Linked DNA regions of Homo sapiens: region 1 is linked to region 2. The links are contacts of gene promoters, found by promoter capture Hi-C in blood cells and fetal thymus (Javierre and others, 2016). All regions are on one chromosome and are shown on one strand. Each heading gives the region's core, a stretch centred on a gene start or on the middle of the fragment in contact. The rest is flanking DNA. Distances are from core to core; before and after follow the strand shown. Region 1 overlaps OGFOD3 (2-oxoglutarate and iron dependent oxygenase domain containing 3). Region 2 holds the start of CSNK1D (casein kinase 1 delta).

What was found. Contacts are between HindIII fragments. The CHiCAGO score rates a contact against its expected background, and 5 or more counts as called.
Region 1: a fragment that was not itself captured here is called in contact with the fragment with the promoter of CSNK1D in region 2 in 4 of 17 cell types (activated CD4 T cells, naive CD4 T cells, naive CD8 T cells and 1 more); the score reaches 9.2 in activated CD4 T cells.

The regions. Positions count from the first base shown.
Region 1 is chr17:82,406,841-82,414,727 of GRCh38, reverse strand. It overlaps OGFOD3 (2-oxoglutarate and iron dependent oxygenase domain containing 3), which reads left to right. Exons shown (of 9, transcript NM_024648.3): 3 at 3,198-3,273; 4 at 5,318-5,360. Among named protein-coding and RNA genes, the nearest start is that of HEXD, 7.6 kb to the left of the region's middle. The HindIII fragment of the contact is 3,878 bases long and covers 4,667-7,887 here.
Region 2 is chr17:82,271,522-82,279,031 of GRCh38, reverse strand. It overlaps CSNK1D (casein kinase 1 delta), which reads left to right and starts at 5,332. Exons shown (of 9, transcript NM_001893.6): 1 at 5,332-5,726. The coding sequence starts at 5,651. LOC124904089 (a long non-coding RNA gene) reads right to left here and starts at 5,254. Exons shown (of 2, transcript XR_007065953.1): 1 at 3,959-5,254; 2 at 589-1,142. RefSeq lists an enhancer at 1,832-2,331 and silencers at 5,193-5,402, 5,643-5,832, 5,883-5,932. The HindIII fragment of the contact is 9,296 bases long and covers 3,980-7,510 here.

The sequences.
Region 1 (7,887 bases), core at 5,356-7,855, 130 kb before region 2:
CAATGCTTTGCACTTGAACCAAGAAAAGATTGCCAAGTTCTTCCACAAAGGGGCGCCGTTGTGACGCACGTGAACGTGGTCCCAGCCGCGCCGCAGGGAGGGACGGGACCGCCTCGGAGTCAAGAAAATGAACGTGTTTCTGTTGTGTGTTGTTGTGGGTGCTCTCTCTTTCTTAGCAGAAGTTCTCTCTCTAACATCCCAGCTTTCCAAAACTCTTTTTTGAATGCTAGCACGGAGCAGAAATTTTTCATGTTATCATTAATAATTTATCGACATTAAAAATAGTTTCAATGGCCTGGAGCAGTGGCTCATCCTCAATCCCAGCACTTTGGGAGGCCCAGGCAGGAGGATCGCTTGAGGCCAAGAGTTCAAGACCAGACTGGGAAACACAGTGAGACCCCATCTCTACAAAATAAAAAATGGGCCAGGTGTGGTGGTGCACGCCTGTAACCCCAGCTCAGGAGGCAGAGGTGGAAGAATCACTTGAACCCAGGAGGTTGGGAGGTAAGGAGGTCAGGGCTGCAGTGAACCTAGAGTGTGCCACCGCACTCCAGCCTGGGTGACAGAGCGAGATCCTGACCCCCCGCCAAAAAAGAAAAAAGTTGGAATGAGGGAGGGAGGATGGAAGTCCATGTTTAATAGATTTGGGATTTCACCTGTGGGAGGTGGAAAAGTTCTGGAGGTGGTGCTAGTGACGGCTGCACGATGCTATTGTGCCCGATGCCACCACACTGCGCACTTTTTAAAAAGCTTGGCTAAAATGGTAAATTCTATCTTGTATATATTTTACAATAAAACAAATGGTTTGATGTATTTTCTTTTTCTTTCTTTCTTCTTTTTTTTTTTTTTGGACAGAGTGTCACTCACTGTGTTGCCCAGGCTGGAGTGCAGTGGCATGATCTCGGCTCACTGCAACCTCCGCCAGGCCTCTTGGGTTCAAGTGATTCTCCTGCCTCAGCCTCCTGAGTAGCTGGGACTACAGGCACCTGCCACCATGTCTGGCTAATTTTTGTAATTTTAGTAGAGACGGTGTTTTGCCTATGTTGCCCAGGCTGATCTCAAACTGCTGACCTCAGGTGATCCACCTGCCTTGGCCTCCTAAGGCCCTGGGGTTACAGGCATGAGCCACTGCGCCTGGCCTCTAATTTTTATTATTATTGTTTTTTAACTCATGAATTACTTGGAAATTTAAAAGATTTGGAAATGCGTGGGATTTTTGGTCCCTTTTCACAACGTTGTGGGTATTTCTCCTGACCCACGCTCGTGTGCACAAATTCTCATCACCAGTTTCTGTCTCCTTCACCCACCGGCTATGGAAAGGGGCGTCAGAACCTCCACTGAGCATGGACCCAGCAGCGTCTGTGCTTTGGTTGCCACGTGTGTCATGGGGCGATGCTGTCTGCTGTCTGCTGCCCCTTCCCCTTCCTGCCGAGTCGCTCCTGTGCCGCGGGGGACCCTCTCTTCCCTCTAGTGATTCTCTTTGCTAGTACAGAGGCTGCGCCACGGGCCTGTGTGGCTCTCATTGCATTTGCTGTTTGCTTTCCGCTTTCCTGTGTCCTCGCGTTTTGTGGGGTAAACCTTATAAAAAAGCATAAAATGACTTTTTGTTTTTGAAATACAACACCTATGTCCATTAGATCATTTAACCACAGTAACTACAGCCCCCCTTCCCTGATATTCAGCCAAGTGGAGCTCTGTTTATCTCCTGGCACAAGGCCCAGAGAAAGGAACCAAGGTCATCTCGGTGCCTTGTGATCCCTGGGTCCAAGCCCCTGATGCTGGCACTCAGCACTGAGTGCGAGGCTTTTATTCCCATGGTCCCGGGAGGGATGCTCCACGTCCAGGCTCAGGGCTGGCTTTTTAGGCAGGATGTAGGGAGAGGGAGGAAAAGCATATTGTGGAGTCCCGGTTTGCCCCATGTCCTGGTGCTTGTGGGCTGCTGTCTGATCGATCAGGCATGGCCTGACGCCTTTCCAGCGCATGAAGCCAGCTGCACTTGGTACCAAACCACAGGGGCGGGTCCCTGGGCCCCTCTCCGACACTCTGCTGTACCTTGTGCATCTGTGCGATGCTGCCTCGACCACCCTGCCCCTGCCCTGACCACCCTGCCCCAAACACCCTAACCCTGTCTGACCACCCTGCCCCTGCCCCAAACACCCTGCCCCTGCCCTGTCCACCTTTCCTCTGCCCAATGACCCTGACTCCTGTCCACTCTGATCCTGTCCCAACGACACTGCCGCTGCCCCAAACGACCTTGCCCCTGCCCCGATAACCATGCCCCTGCCCCGATAACCATGCCCCTGCCCCGATAACCATGCCCCTGCCCCGATAACCATGCCCCTGCCCCGATAACCATGCCCCTGCCCCGATAACCATGCCCCTGCCCCGATAACCATGCCCCTGCCCCGACCGTGTTGCTCCTGTCCCAACGACCCTGCCCCTGCCCCGACCACCCTGACCCCCATTTGAGCTGCTGCTTCCTCTTCCCTCTCAGCCTCCGCAGGTCACCAAGGTACGGGGAGAGACAGGGGCATGTGCGGAGCAGTTCGCTGTGCCCTGGGGAAGGACTGGGACTAGACCCACAAGCTCCACTCTGGTGGTCTCAGGAGGGTTTTCTGCTCCAGTGGTCTCAGGAGGGTTTTCCTCTCTGGCGGTCTCAGGAGGGTTTTCTGCGCCAGTGGTCCCAGGAGGGTCTTCCTCTCTGGTGGTCTCAGGAGGGTTTTCTGCTCTGGTGGTCTCAGGAGGGTTCCCCCCTCTGGTGGCCTCAGGAGGGTTTTCCTCCCTGGTGGTCTCAGGAGGGTTTTCCTCTCTGGCGGTCTCAGGAGGGTTTTCTGCTCTGGTGGTCTCAGAAGGGTTTTCTGACGGTGCCTGTGGGTGTCTGGACCTGCAGTCAGTGATGGTTCAGGAATGCTGTTGACGCCGTGTCTGGGGTTTCTGTGACTTTCCCAGGGTTTGGGGCAGCAACAGGTGCCTCTGGATTAAATTTCCAGTTGGAGCCACTGGAAGCCAAGGTGGCCCAGTGAGACGTGAACTCCAGATGCACCGCACAAAGCGCATGCACGCTGGAGAGCTGTGGTTGTGTGTGTCTGAAATTCACATTTGACCGGGCGTATTAGCCAGTTCTGGCCCTGATTCCCTGGAAGGGCATGCGCCGGTGGCCTTGGAAACTGCGTCTCACCCTGGCTGTCCCTTCACAGGCTGCACTCCCCGAAAGTGCGGCAGAGGTGTCACCGATGTCGTCATCACCAGGGAGGAAGCGGAGCGGATTCGCAGGTAACCGCCTGTCCCTGAGCACGGTGGGATTCAAACAAACACACGCGGAGTGGGGCTAGGGCGGGAAGCAGAGCATTGTTAGTAATAAAGTGGTTTTAAGGATTTTATTGCCAGGCGTGGTGGCTCACGCCTGTAATCCCAGCACTTGGGGAGGCTGAGGCGGGCAGATTGCCTGAGTTCAGGAGTTCGAGACCAGCCTGGGCAACATGGTGAAACCCTGTCTCTACTAAAATACAATAAATTAGCTGGGTGTGGTGGCATGTGCCTGTAGTCCCAGCTACTCAGGAGGCTGAGGCAGGAGAATCGCTGGAACCCGGGAGGCAGAGGTTGCAGTGAGCCAAGACTGCACCACTGCACTCCATCCTGGGCGACAGAGCGAGATTCTATCTCCAAAAAAAAAAAAAAGATTTTATTATAATTTTATAAGAATTTCCAGGCTGGGTGCGGTGGCTCATGCCTGTAATCCTAGCACTTGGGGAGGCCAAGGCGGGTGGATTGCCTGAGCTCAGGAGATCGACACCAGCCTGGGCAACATGGTGAAACCCCTGTCTCTACTAAAATATGAAAAATTAGCCGAGTGTGATGGCACACTCCTGTAATCCCAGCTACTCAGGAGGCTGAGACAGGAGAATTGCTTGAACCTGGGAGGCAGGGATTGCAGTGAGCCGAGATTGAGCCATTGCATTCCAGCCTGGGTGACAGAGTGAGACTCCATCTCAAAAAAAAAAAAAAAAAAAAAAAAAAGAATTATGTGCTTTCAAGGGCCAAGCTCAGATTTTCCGATTTCAGGAGAGGAGACCATGGCCCTCAGCGAAGCAGTAGCTGGGAGAGTACCCAGAGGCCCAGGTTCCTCTGCAGGGGTTGTGGCCGCCTCTGGGGGCTGCTGCTGAGTGCCCCATGCTCCCCACGGAGCCTCCGGGACACTGCTCAATGACCGCTCAGTGTCTGCTCTGAAACTGCCTCCAGGGAGCCCGTCAGCCCACCTGGCTATGACTTGTGGCAGCACAGGATGCCACTCAGAGGCTACTGGTGCTGGACTTTTCTTACTGAGATCTTAAAAGAAAGTTTTGATTTTCCAACCACTTGTTGAGACGATAAGCATGTGGAATGGTGTGCAGCCCTGGGCCACGTGCCCTGCCCTGAGATTCTCCCCAGGGAGCCTGCCCCCGAGGATGCTGCCTAGCTCCACGCAGGGTTACTGCTGCCTAGCTCCAGTGGGGTTACTGCTGTCTGACTGAGGCACCGGCGTGTCCCCACTTGGTGTCCACAGGCAGCTCCCAGCACCTGTGGCAGCTCAGGGTGGTCCTCTGTGGTCCAGCACAGCTGGCGTGTGGGTGTCTTTCTCCCACCATGGTCAGGGCCCCTATCTCCTGAGCTGGTGAATCTCAAAGCTTCCCCCACCTGCCTGGGGTTCCAGGAGAGATGGGGAGCAGTGGGCCCTCCCCTAGATGCTCCCCAGGCTCCTGAGCTTGGCCCAGGTGGCTTTCGATATTGAAGATGAGAGATTAAGCCCAGCCCTCCCTTTCTCTCTCTCTCTCTCTCTCTCTTTTTCTTTCTTTCTTGACAGAGTCTTGCTTTGTTGTCCAGGCTGGAGTGCAGTGGCGCGATCTCGGCTCACTGCAACCTCTGCCTTCTGGGTTCAAGCGATTCTCCTGGCTCAGCCTCCAGAGTAGCTGGGATTACAGGCACCTGCCATCACAGCTGGCTAATTTTTGTATTTTTAGTTGAGACGAGGTTTCACCATGTTGGCCAGGCTGGTCTGGAACTCCTGACCTCGTGATCCACCCGCCTTGGCCTCCCAAGGTGCTGAAGCCCAGTCGTTTCTAAGCTGAGTCAAATATTGACAAGACAACGATGGCAGTATTGTCGCTTACGCACTGAACTTTGAAAGTTGAGTCCTTTGGTCTAAACATTTGTTTACATCATAAACATTAAACACGCAGGACCCACTAATGTTGCATTAATTTTGCTGATTGACGTTTGCCTAGATTATACATTATAGACAATTCTAGCAACGAAATTCTGAATTATTTTCTCCCTGCAGCGTAGCTGAAAAGGGGCTCTCCCTGGGAGGATCTGACGGAGGGGTGAGTTGAATGTAGTCCCTGCCCCCCTTTTTTTACCCGTTAACTTTGCTCTCACTTGGATGGGAAGGGGAAGGCACAGACATGCAGGGTTCCCTGCGTGCCCCCAAATGTGGGTGGGGCCTGCCGTGGTGTTTCTCAGCACCAGCCGCAGCAGCTGCGCCTGACTGAAACCCGTGCGGCGTCCCCTCGTTGGGAAGAGTGTGTCCTTAGATGTGCGTGGCCATCTATTCATGGCATGTCACGGCCTGCCTGGCTCCAGTTCACACTGGGGGATAGAGGGGGTCGGAAGCAGGGAGCCGGCAAGGGAGCGGGGTGGGAGCCCAGCGAGGAGACGGCTGCGCATGCTGGACACAGGAGAGCCCGTGGAGCTGCCGGGAAACAGCAGGGCCTCCGTGGGACAGACACGCTGCAACGCATCCTGCAACTTCCTAGCTGGACGCCTCCATGGACGCCCTGTGGGGCTGTCGTCCCATGTGAGGCTGCAGGGGGTCAGCTAGTGGCCTCGGATAATGTGTTCACCTGGAGCCCGTGGACATGATCTGATTTGGAAAAGGGACCTTTGCAGATGTAATTAACTTAAGGATCTCAAGATGACATCATCCCAGATTTAGGGTCCTAAATCCAATGGCAAGTGCCTATAGGAGACAGAGGCAGGGGGAGATTTGAGAGGGAGGAGGAAAAGGTCCTGTGATGATGGAGGCAGAGATGGGAGCAGTGCGGCCATGGAAGAGGCGGGCAGGACCTCCCCTGGAGCCCTGGGAGGGAGCAGGGCCCCTCCCACACCTCGATTTTAGACTCCTGGGCTCTAGAACTGTGAGAGAATAAACTTGTGTTGTTTTAAAGCCCCAGTTTGTGTTACCACAGCCGCAGGGATCATGGAGCCACCGCCGGCTGTGGCCTCGCCCTCCTGTTGGGCAGTGGCTGGGAGTCAGTCTGGTGCAGCTGGTGTTAGCTCCAATTCCCATGCGGTTTCCTCAGGGTTGTTTTCTTGCTCGGTGTGTGGAATTGTCTGAAGATCTGTTTCTCTCTGTTTATTTGGTGATCGCTTTGAATTATAATCACTGAATAGACTTGAGTCTTTCTGCATATTTGAAACTTCTAGAAAATTAATTTATAGACTCTTTGAGAATTTCAAAGTATTTCTGTGATGGTCTGTGTGACTTTTTTCTGCAAACTCTTTTCTCTTGAGTTCTGAAAATTAAGTTCCTTTTTTTCTTCTTTTTTTGAGACAGAGTCTCGCTCTGTTGCCCAGGCTGGAGTGCAATGGGGCGATCTCCACTCACTGCAACCTCCAACTCCTGGGTTCAAGCCATTCTTCTGCCTTAGCCTCCTGAGTAGCTGGGACTACAGGCATGTGCCATGATGCCCGGCTAATTTTTGCATTTTAAATAGAGATGAGGTTTCACCATGTTGGCCAGGCTGGTCTTGAACTCCAGAGCTCAGGTGACCCACCTGCCTTGACCCCCCAAAGTGCTGGGATTACAGGTGTGAACCACCGTGCCCGGCCTAAGTTCCTCCCTTTATTTCAGTTTGGTTTGGTTCAGTTCGGGGGCTATTTGTTAAAGATCTGTGAGTGAGTAGGTTTCTGTTTCACAGCTCCTCCACGTTCACATGGGAAGTTGTCCTGCATGGAGCTGGCTGGGCCGCTGCTTTGGGTTCAGTTACTGTTCAGCGGGCCCAAGCTAGGTTAGTGCCGCAGGGCCAGTGGCTGTGGCGATGAGGAAGGGGCAGCAGTGGGGCTCCTCTGGGGTCACAGGTGGGATGACTAACGTGGGCTGGAAGCCTCTTCCTCTGAGGACGTAGGGAAGGACTGAGAGGTGGGTGGTCGGGCAGGAAACACTTCAGCAGTGGCTTACAAAGTGATGACTCAGGCTTGGCGTGGCGCGCACTGTGGTGCCAGCCGCCCAGGAGGCCAAGGTGGGAGCACCGCTGTGAGGCATTTACTCGAGAGAAGTCAACACTTGCCCACAGGGACACATGACTGTGACTGGCACGGAGCTGCACGGAGATGGCTCCAGACTAAAAATAGCCCACACGTGCCACCATTCTTTAGGTCACAGGGAACAAAAGTGTTTGGTCCAGGAAGATTTTTTTTTTTTTTTGAGATGGAGTTTCGCTCTTGTAGCCCAGGCTGGAGTGCAATGGCACGATCTCGGCTCGCTGCAACCTCCGCCTCCCTGATTCAAGTGATTCTCCTGCCTCAGCCTCCCAAGTAGCTGGGATTACAGCTCCTTGGGAGGCTATCTCTGTAGGTGTCCCAGCTACAGCTGGGATTACAGCTCGCCACCATGCCCAGCTAATTTTGTATTTTTAGTAGACATGGGGTTTCACCATGTTAGCCAGGCTGGTTTTGAACTCCTGGCCTCAAGCAATCCACCTGTCTCAGCCTCCCAAAGTGCTGGGATTGCAGGTGTGAGCCACCACGTCTGGCCGGTCTGGGAGGATTTTAAGAAAGTCCTGGGTTGAGGCTGGGTGCAGTGGCTAATGCCTGTAATCCCAGTACTTTGGGAGGCTGAGGTGGGAGGAT
Region 2 (7,510 bases), core at 4,083-6,582:
CCGGAGAGCACGTGGGTCAGACATGAAGTGGGGGGCTGGGCACACCAGGGCCCCATGGGAAAGGCAGGTGTTCCTGCTCCCCCAGTGTCCTCCTGGCTCCCTGGGAAGTCCCTGTGTGTTTTCCTTCCTTAACTGTGCTTATCAGGTGGTCTTTGTTCCAAAGTCATTCGCAAACAAGACACCAACAGTTTCCCACCACGTGGCTCTACTCCTCACACCCTCCACCCGATAAGATGAAATCTGTAGAAGACATTGATCTCCCTTTCTCCCCTCTTCCCACTTTTTTTTTTTTTAATTTTGCCATCTGTGTAGTTCCTTGTAAAATTTTTTTTTTTTTTTTTAAGACAAGGTCTTGCTAAGTTGCCTAGGCTGGTCTCAAACTCCTGGGCTCAAGTGATCCTCCTGCCTTTGCCTCCCAAAGTGCTGGGATTACTGGTGTGAGCCACCGTATCCAGCCTTCCTCACTTCTGATGGGAAGACTTCCACTCCTCACTGCTCCCTGCCTCCAGGTTGTAGTGCTAGCCTACGGACGAATTCCTTGCAGCAGCATTTCCTGTCGAAAATCTGTTTAACACTTACTTTCCCCAGTTCCAGAGAGGTGATCATTATTTATTCTCCACCATATGTTAGCATGCATGCAAGTATACACACACACGCATGCTGTGTGCATGCACACACGAACACATGCACGTACACACACGTGCACATATGCAAACATATACGTACATGATGTGCATGCCCGTGTAGTGTCTGTGCATAAATGCACAAACACATGCAGACACATGCACACATCCATTTCTAACATGTCCATACACTCACAATACACACGTCTGCATGCAAGTGTGCGCAGGTGCCGACTTACACAGAGTGCTGCTTGACATGGTACCCCTCCCCTTCCCCGCCCTGTCTGAGATCTGGGATCTGTTTCATTCGTTGTTCACGAGGAGGCCTTCCTGGCCCCTTCCTGGCTGGGCTCAGGGTGTTAGACTCGGAATCCTCCCACACTCACAGACGCCTTTCTTTGCCCTGCCAGGCAGATGGTGTCTGTGCCAGGCACGAGTCCTGGGAGCCGTCTCAGCTGTCTGAAGATGTTTTTCTGCAGCTTCCGGTTACATGTAAGCCGCTATCTCAGTCTGTTCATGCTGCTGTAACAAAACACCATGGACTAGGTACTTATAAAGAACAGAAATTTATTTCTCACAGTTCTGGGGGCTGGAAAGTCCAAGATGAAGGTGCTGGCATGTTCAGCGTCTGGTCAGGGCCTGGTGTCTCCTCCCGAGATGACAGCTTGTTACAGCATCCTCCAGAGGGGAGGAACATGGTGTCCTCACACAGCAGAGAGACAAAAGGGGAAAAGGGACCAAACTCCCTCCATCAAGCCCTTTCACAAGGCACTGAGCCATTCACGAGGGCGGGGCCTCACGATCCAAGCCCCTCTCCAAAGTGCCCCCTCCACTGACGCACTAGGCAGGTCAGTCTCTAACACACGCTTTTGGGAGGTCACGGGCAGGGGACAGCAGAGTCCCAAGCCAGTCTGATTCTTTCCTTTTGTTGTTGTTGTTTGTTTGTTTTTGAGACACAGTCTCGCTCTTGTTGCCTGGGCTGGAGTGCAGTGGCAGGATCTCTGCTCACTGCAACCTCTGTCTCATGAACTCCAGCAATTCTCTTGCCTGGCCTCCTGGGTAGCTGGGACTACAGGTGCACGTCACTACGCCTGGCTAATGTTTGCATTTTTAGTAGAGACAGGGTTTCACATGCTGGCCAGGCTGGTCTCAAACTCCTGACCTCAGGTGATCCACCCACCTTGGCCTCTCAAAGTGTTGGGATTCCAGGCATAAACCACCGCGCCCAGCCTGATTCTTTCCCTTTGTTAGCAGATTCTTTCTAAATGGGTATCTGTAAACTTTCCTCTTTCTCTGTTTCTATAGTTTGGGTGTTGGTCCCCTTCAAACCTCAGGTTGAAATCTGAGCCCCAGTGTTGGAGGTGTCTGGGTCATGGGGGCAGATTCCTCACGAACAGTTTGGTGCTGTCCTCTTAGTAATGAGTGAGTTTTCACTCCTACTAGTTCCAGCAAGAGGTGCTTTTAAAAACACCTGCACGGCCGGCACGGTGCCTCATGCCTATAATCTCAGCACTTTGGGAGGCTAAGGCGGGCGGATCACGAGGTCAGAAGTTCAAGATCAGCCTGACCAACATGGTGAAACCCCGTCTCTACAAAAATACAAAAATTAGCCGGGCATAGTGGCGCATGCCTCTAATCCCAGCTACTCAGCAGGCTGAGGCAGGAGAATCGCTTGAACCCGGGAGGCGGAGGTTGCAGTGAGCCGGCATTGCGCCACTGCGCTCCAGCCTGGGCAACAGAGCGAGACTCCATCTTAAAAAAAAAAAAAAAGGCCTGTACTTCCCTACTCCTCCAGCTCCCTCTCGCACACGGTCTGCACACACTCCAGCTGCCCTTCACCTTCTGCCATGAGTGGAGGCAGCGGCAGCAAGGCCCTCACTAGAGGCAGACGCCCGATCTTGAACTTTTGAGACCTCAGCATCGTGAGCTGTGTTAGGCTGTGGTTGCCTTGCTATAAAGAAATACTTAGGACTGGGCAATTTTAAAAGAAAAGAGGGCCGGCATGGTAGCTCATGCGTGTGATCCCAGCACTCTGGAAGGCCAAGGTGGATGGATCACTTGAGCTCAGAAGTTTGAGACCAGTCTGGGCCAGTAAGACCCCATGTCTACAAAAAATATGAAAAATTAGCCAGGTATGGTGGCGTGTGCCTGTAGTCCCAGCTACTCAGGAGGGTGAGGTGGGAGGATCACCTGAGCCCAGGAGGCAGAGGTTGCAGTGAGCCGAGATCACGCCACTGCACTCCAGCCTGGGCAACAGAGCGAGACCCTGTGTCAAAATAAATAAATAAATAAATAAATAAATAATGAAAAGAGGTTTACTTGGCTCCTGGTTCTGCAGGCTTTACAGGAGGCATGGTGCTGGCCTCTGCTCAGCTTCTGGGGAGGCCTCCGGAAGCTTCCAATCATGGTGAAAGGCAATGGGGGAGCGGGCACGTCACATGGCCAGAGCAGGAGCGAGCGAGCGAGTGAGCGAGAGAGAGAGGTGCCCCACACTTTTTAAATAACCAGATCTCAGGAGAACTCACTATCTCAAGGACAGCACCAAGGGGATGGTACTAAACATTCCTGAGAAATCCACCCCCATGACCCAGCCACCTCCAGCCTTGGGGTTTACAATTCAACATGAGGTTTAGTGTGGACAAATATACAAATTACCTCATGATTCTTCATAAATTTCCCAGCCTCAGGTGTTTCTTGATAGCAACAGTAAAGGAGCTAAGACACTGTGGCGTTCAGTTGTATCAGGACAGACCTGGGTGTGGGCTGGCCCTCATACGTCCTGCCGGGAGCTCTGGGGGCTTTCCAGTCTGCAGGTCGGGACGTCCTTCTACTCTGAGATGTTCTAGTATCATCAAACCGCCCCACAGACCATGCCTGGAGACTCTGCCTCACACATCCGTTCCCAGCGGTCACCAGCCCCGCATCCCTCCCTCGTCACCGCATCTGTGCGTCTCCTCTGTGACGGAGGCTGTTCCTTGGCAATGACTATCCTCAGCTTCAGCCCCCTGCTGACAGTTTTCTAGCTCAGAACCTGGCCATGTCTGCACCCTCCCTGTCTTCTCGGAAGGGGTGCTGTCATTCCCTGGGCTACACACCTGCTTTGTCCTCCTCTCTCTGACCCCAGGGCTCCAGGGTACCACTGTCCTCTTCCTTTGTCAGTTTGTTGTGGCTGGGGCTGGTGGTGGGGGAGCCACAGCAATCAGCCTGCCTCACCTTGCCCAGCCCGCATGTTCCCAGGGCTCCTGCCATCCCCACTACACCACAGCCCAGTCCGTGTGCACGGGTTATAGAGTCAAGACACAAACACACAAAAGCCAGGCAGACGGGCACAGTACCTGCCGCAGCTGCATGAAGCTTGGGGCACTATGGGTGAGAAGAGCTAGAAATGTTGGGGCCATCAGAGCCCAGGAGGACCAGCCGAGGGAGGAGCAGCTGACAGGTGGGCAGGTGCCCCTAGTCAGGGACAGCAGGACTCCCCAGGAAGAAGGATCACAGCCACCCGTGGGAGAGCTGGACTCTGTTCATCAACAGAAAAGCCGTGAGCGATTCCGCCAACAAGGTCAGTTTTACTAGTCTGGCAGCCCCCCACCCCCGGCTTCTGTAACTCAGAAACTGGGCAGTTCCGACTGCCCATCCCTCATTAGTGACTGATGGTGGTCTGGCCGGCGGCATCTCCTGTCTCCAGGCCCTGCTATGTAATTTCGGGAATGGACGCCCGTCTCCCCGACCTGACCTCCAGCTGTTTGGAGCTGAGGGGTGGAGAGGAAAGACTGGGGGGTGGAGAAAGGCGAGCACCACTGTGGGGCCTGTGGGGGCTGCTTTCCTCTTCTGCAGTGACCTGGACGGGCTGAGGCTGCTGTCTCACTCACACGGCGGTGCCCACACCACAGCCCTGGTATGCTAATGCGTCAAAACACACCTTCACCTGTTTCACATTCTTGAGTTTCAGCGAGGATGCGACAGGTCTCGAGACACATGGACGTGGGACCATGGGGACGGGTTCTTCAAGGTCCCCATGCACCTGCAGCCTGGGGGGGCTTGTCTGAAGGGCTTTCTTCCCAGTGATGGGAATCAAAGGCCCCGATCTTTGAAGCTGGCCATCAGCCTGAACGTCCACTCCTTGTTTCCTTTGCAAGGAGGAACATTCAGATCCAACACAGATAAGAATGTTGACTCCGTCTCCAGGCCGCAGGGACTGGAGGGAGGCAGGTGGTCTGGCCTCATTTTGTGAAAGGTGGTGGCTTTGTCCTCAATCTTCAGGCTGGACATCAGGACCTCCCAGGGCGCGGGCCTGCTCTGTCTCTGGCCTTAGGTGTCAGGAGGTAAGGCCGCAGACGCTGACGTACTGGGATGCCCCAAGCCCGGGAACTGGCAGCCCAGTGAGGGGGTCTCACCTGTGTCCCCTGAGCCTGGCCTGTCACTCTGTCCACGCCTCAGCTACCTGTCCCCTCCTGCAAAGGGCACCGCCTGTCGCGAGGAACTCACCTGGCTTCCTCGACATCTCGGGGGACACACGAAAAGCCCCCGCGAGAGCAGCAGGAGCCTGCACGTGGAAGGGGCTGGCGGCCCGAGGTCCCGGGGTAACAGGAGGGCAGAGGGGCTGGGCACGGCGCAGGGTCGGGAGGAGGCCTGGAGCGCTCGCCCCGCCCGGCCCCGCCCCTGGAGCGCCGCGGCCCCGCCCCGCCGGGTTGCTAGGGGAAGTGACGTCACAGCGCGATGGCGGCGGCTCCTTTAGGCAGCTGAAAGGGGATTTAGGCCCGGAAGATCCGAGTCCATCCGCGGCGGGGAGAGGGCAAGCGGGACCGGTAGGGGCCGGAGCAGCGGCGGCGGCGCTCGGACTGTCCCATCCGCCCCGTATTGAGGCGCTGGGAGCGGCGGGGCGACAGGAAAGCGATGGTGAAAGCGGGGCCGTGAGGGGGGCGGAGCCGGGAGCCGGACCCGCAGTAGCGGCAGCAGCGGCGCCGCCTCCCAGAGTTCAGACCCAGGAAGCGGCCGGGAGGGCAGGAGCGAATCGGGCCGCCGCCGCCATGGAGCTGAGAGTCGGGAACAGGTACCGGCTGGGCCGGAAGATCGGCAGCGGCTCCTTCGGAGACATCTATCTCGGTGAGGCCCCGCCGCCCCCGCCCGCCGCCCGAAGACCCGGGCCCTGCGGCTGCCAAGACCAAGCGCGATCGCGGAAGGAAGTGGTGGCCCCCGCGGGGTCTCCGCGCAAGTCCCGGCACCGCCGGATCGTGGCCAGAACCCAACGGCCACTAGGCTAGCGCGGCCAGGGGTGGGGAGGGCAGTGGGGAGCGGACGTGGGGGAGGGGCAGGACCAGGTCGGGGGAGCAGGGTCTGGAGAGGGGAGGGTTGGGGAAGGAGGGGATAGGGGAGCTGACCCGGGGTGGGGCATGGTCTCTGGGGAGCCGACCTGGGTAGGGGCAGGGTCGTGGGGAGCGGACTCGGGAAGGGCTGGGTGGGGCGTGGGGAGGCGGGCCTGGGGGAGGGGCAGGGCGGGGGTGGGGGCAGCGGGCCGTGGGAGGGGAGGGGGTAGGGCTGGGGCCGCGAAGCGGGCGTCGGCTTCCTCTACGCCTAAGGTCACCGCAGTAAACAAAGGCCACGCTCTTTCTTCCGCAGCCCGGTCCGGGGCTGTCTGGCTGCCCCCTCAGAGGCTGCCCCGGTGTCTTGCATTCGTGGGGGAAAATGTCAGAAAGACCCAAATGCCGTGTGGAGCGGGGGAGTGGCCCGGCTAGGAGTGGGGCTTGCCCTCCCGCTGGGGGTTCTCTCTGAACGGTTCCCCTTGGCCTTGGAGCGGTGACTGAGTGCAAATGAGCAAGGGTTAAGTTTAGGTGAATGTAGAGAAAGTCACACAGGATTAAGATGCTGGCAAGATGAGAGGCAGATGAGGTAGTTGTACTCATGAGGTGTCCTTTAGACTGTAACAGTCTCAAGGTAGATTTCAAAAACAATGGGATTAGAAGGTTTTGGGTTGTGTCATATTTACAATGGAAAAATATGCACGTGAACACAAGTGTGATGAAAGGTTGGCTTAAATCTTCAAGTTTGTAATTTTTTTTTTTTTCCTGAGACGGAGTTTCGCTCTTGTTGCCCAGGTTGGAGTGCAATGGCGTGATCTCGGCTCACCGCAACCTCTGCCTCCCAGGTTCAAGCGATTCTCCTGCCTCAGCCTCCCGAAAAGCTGGGATCACAGGCGTGCGCCACCACGCCTGGCTAATTTCGTATTTTTAGTAGAGACGGGGTTTCTTCATGTTGGTCAAGGCTGGTCTCGAACTCCGGACCTCAAGTGATCCGCCCAGTTCGGCCTCCCGAAGTGCTGGGAAGCCACCGCGCCTGGCCCAAGTTTGTAATTTTAAAGTAACTTAATTTTCCGCACTTGTTAGTGGGATTGTGCAATGCACGAGTTATTCCAAGATCCCCTGAATTTGAGGATATGTAGCCTGAGGCGGTGTGCCTGCAGAGGGGCTGCTGCAGACCTTTGAGGGGAGCTGTTTTCTGTTCCAGCAGCCCTAGCTTTGGGGTGTGTTTTAACTGGGGCACCTGTCAGCTAGGGTCAGGAATCCCCTGGGATGTCAGTAATGCCTCTGGTCATACCTTTTAGATGAAGCCACATGTGGACAGTCTCCAGTTCTCACACCCTTCCCACTTGTCACCAGAGAGAGGACTCAGGACCCGGTGGGCTGACAGCGTTAGGACGAATCCACACATATGGGTGGCTCATACTTTCGGTGCCTGGTTAACCTGCCAGGTGACCCTGTCACATGCCATATTGTTGCTTTTGAACCTGTACATATGCCTTAGTGGACTGCTGAGTAAGCAGGCTTTAGACATTTGGGTTTGGCTATTAAACATTTATACCAGGTGGTCAGCTGGATGTGTTCTTGGCAGTG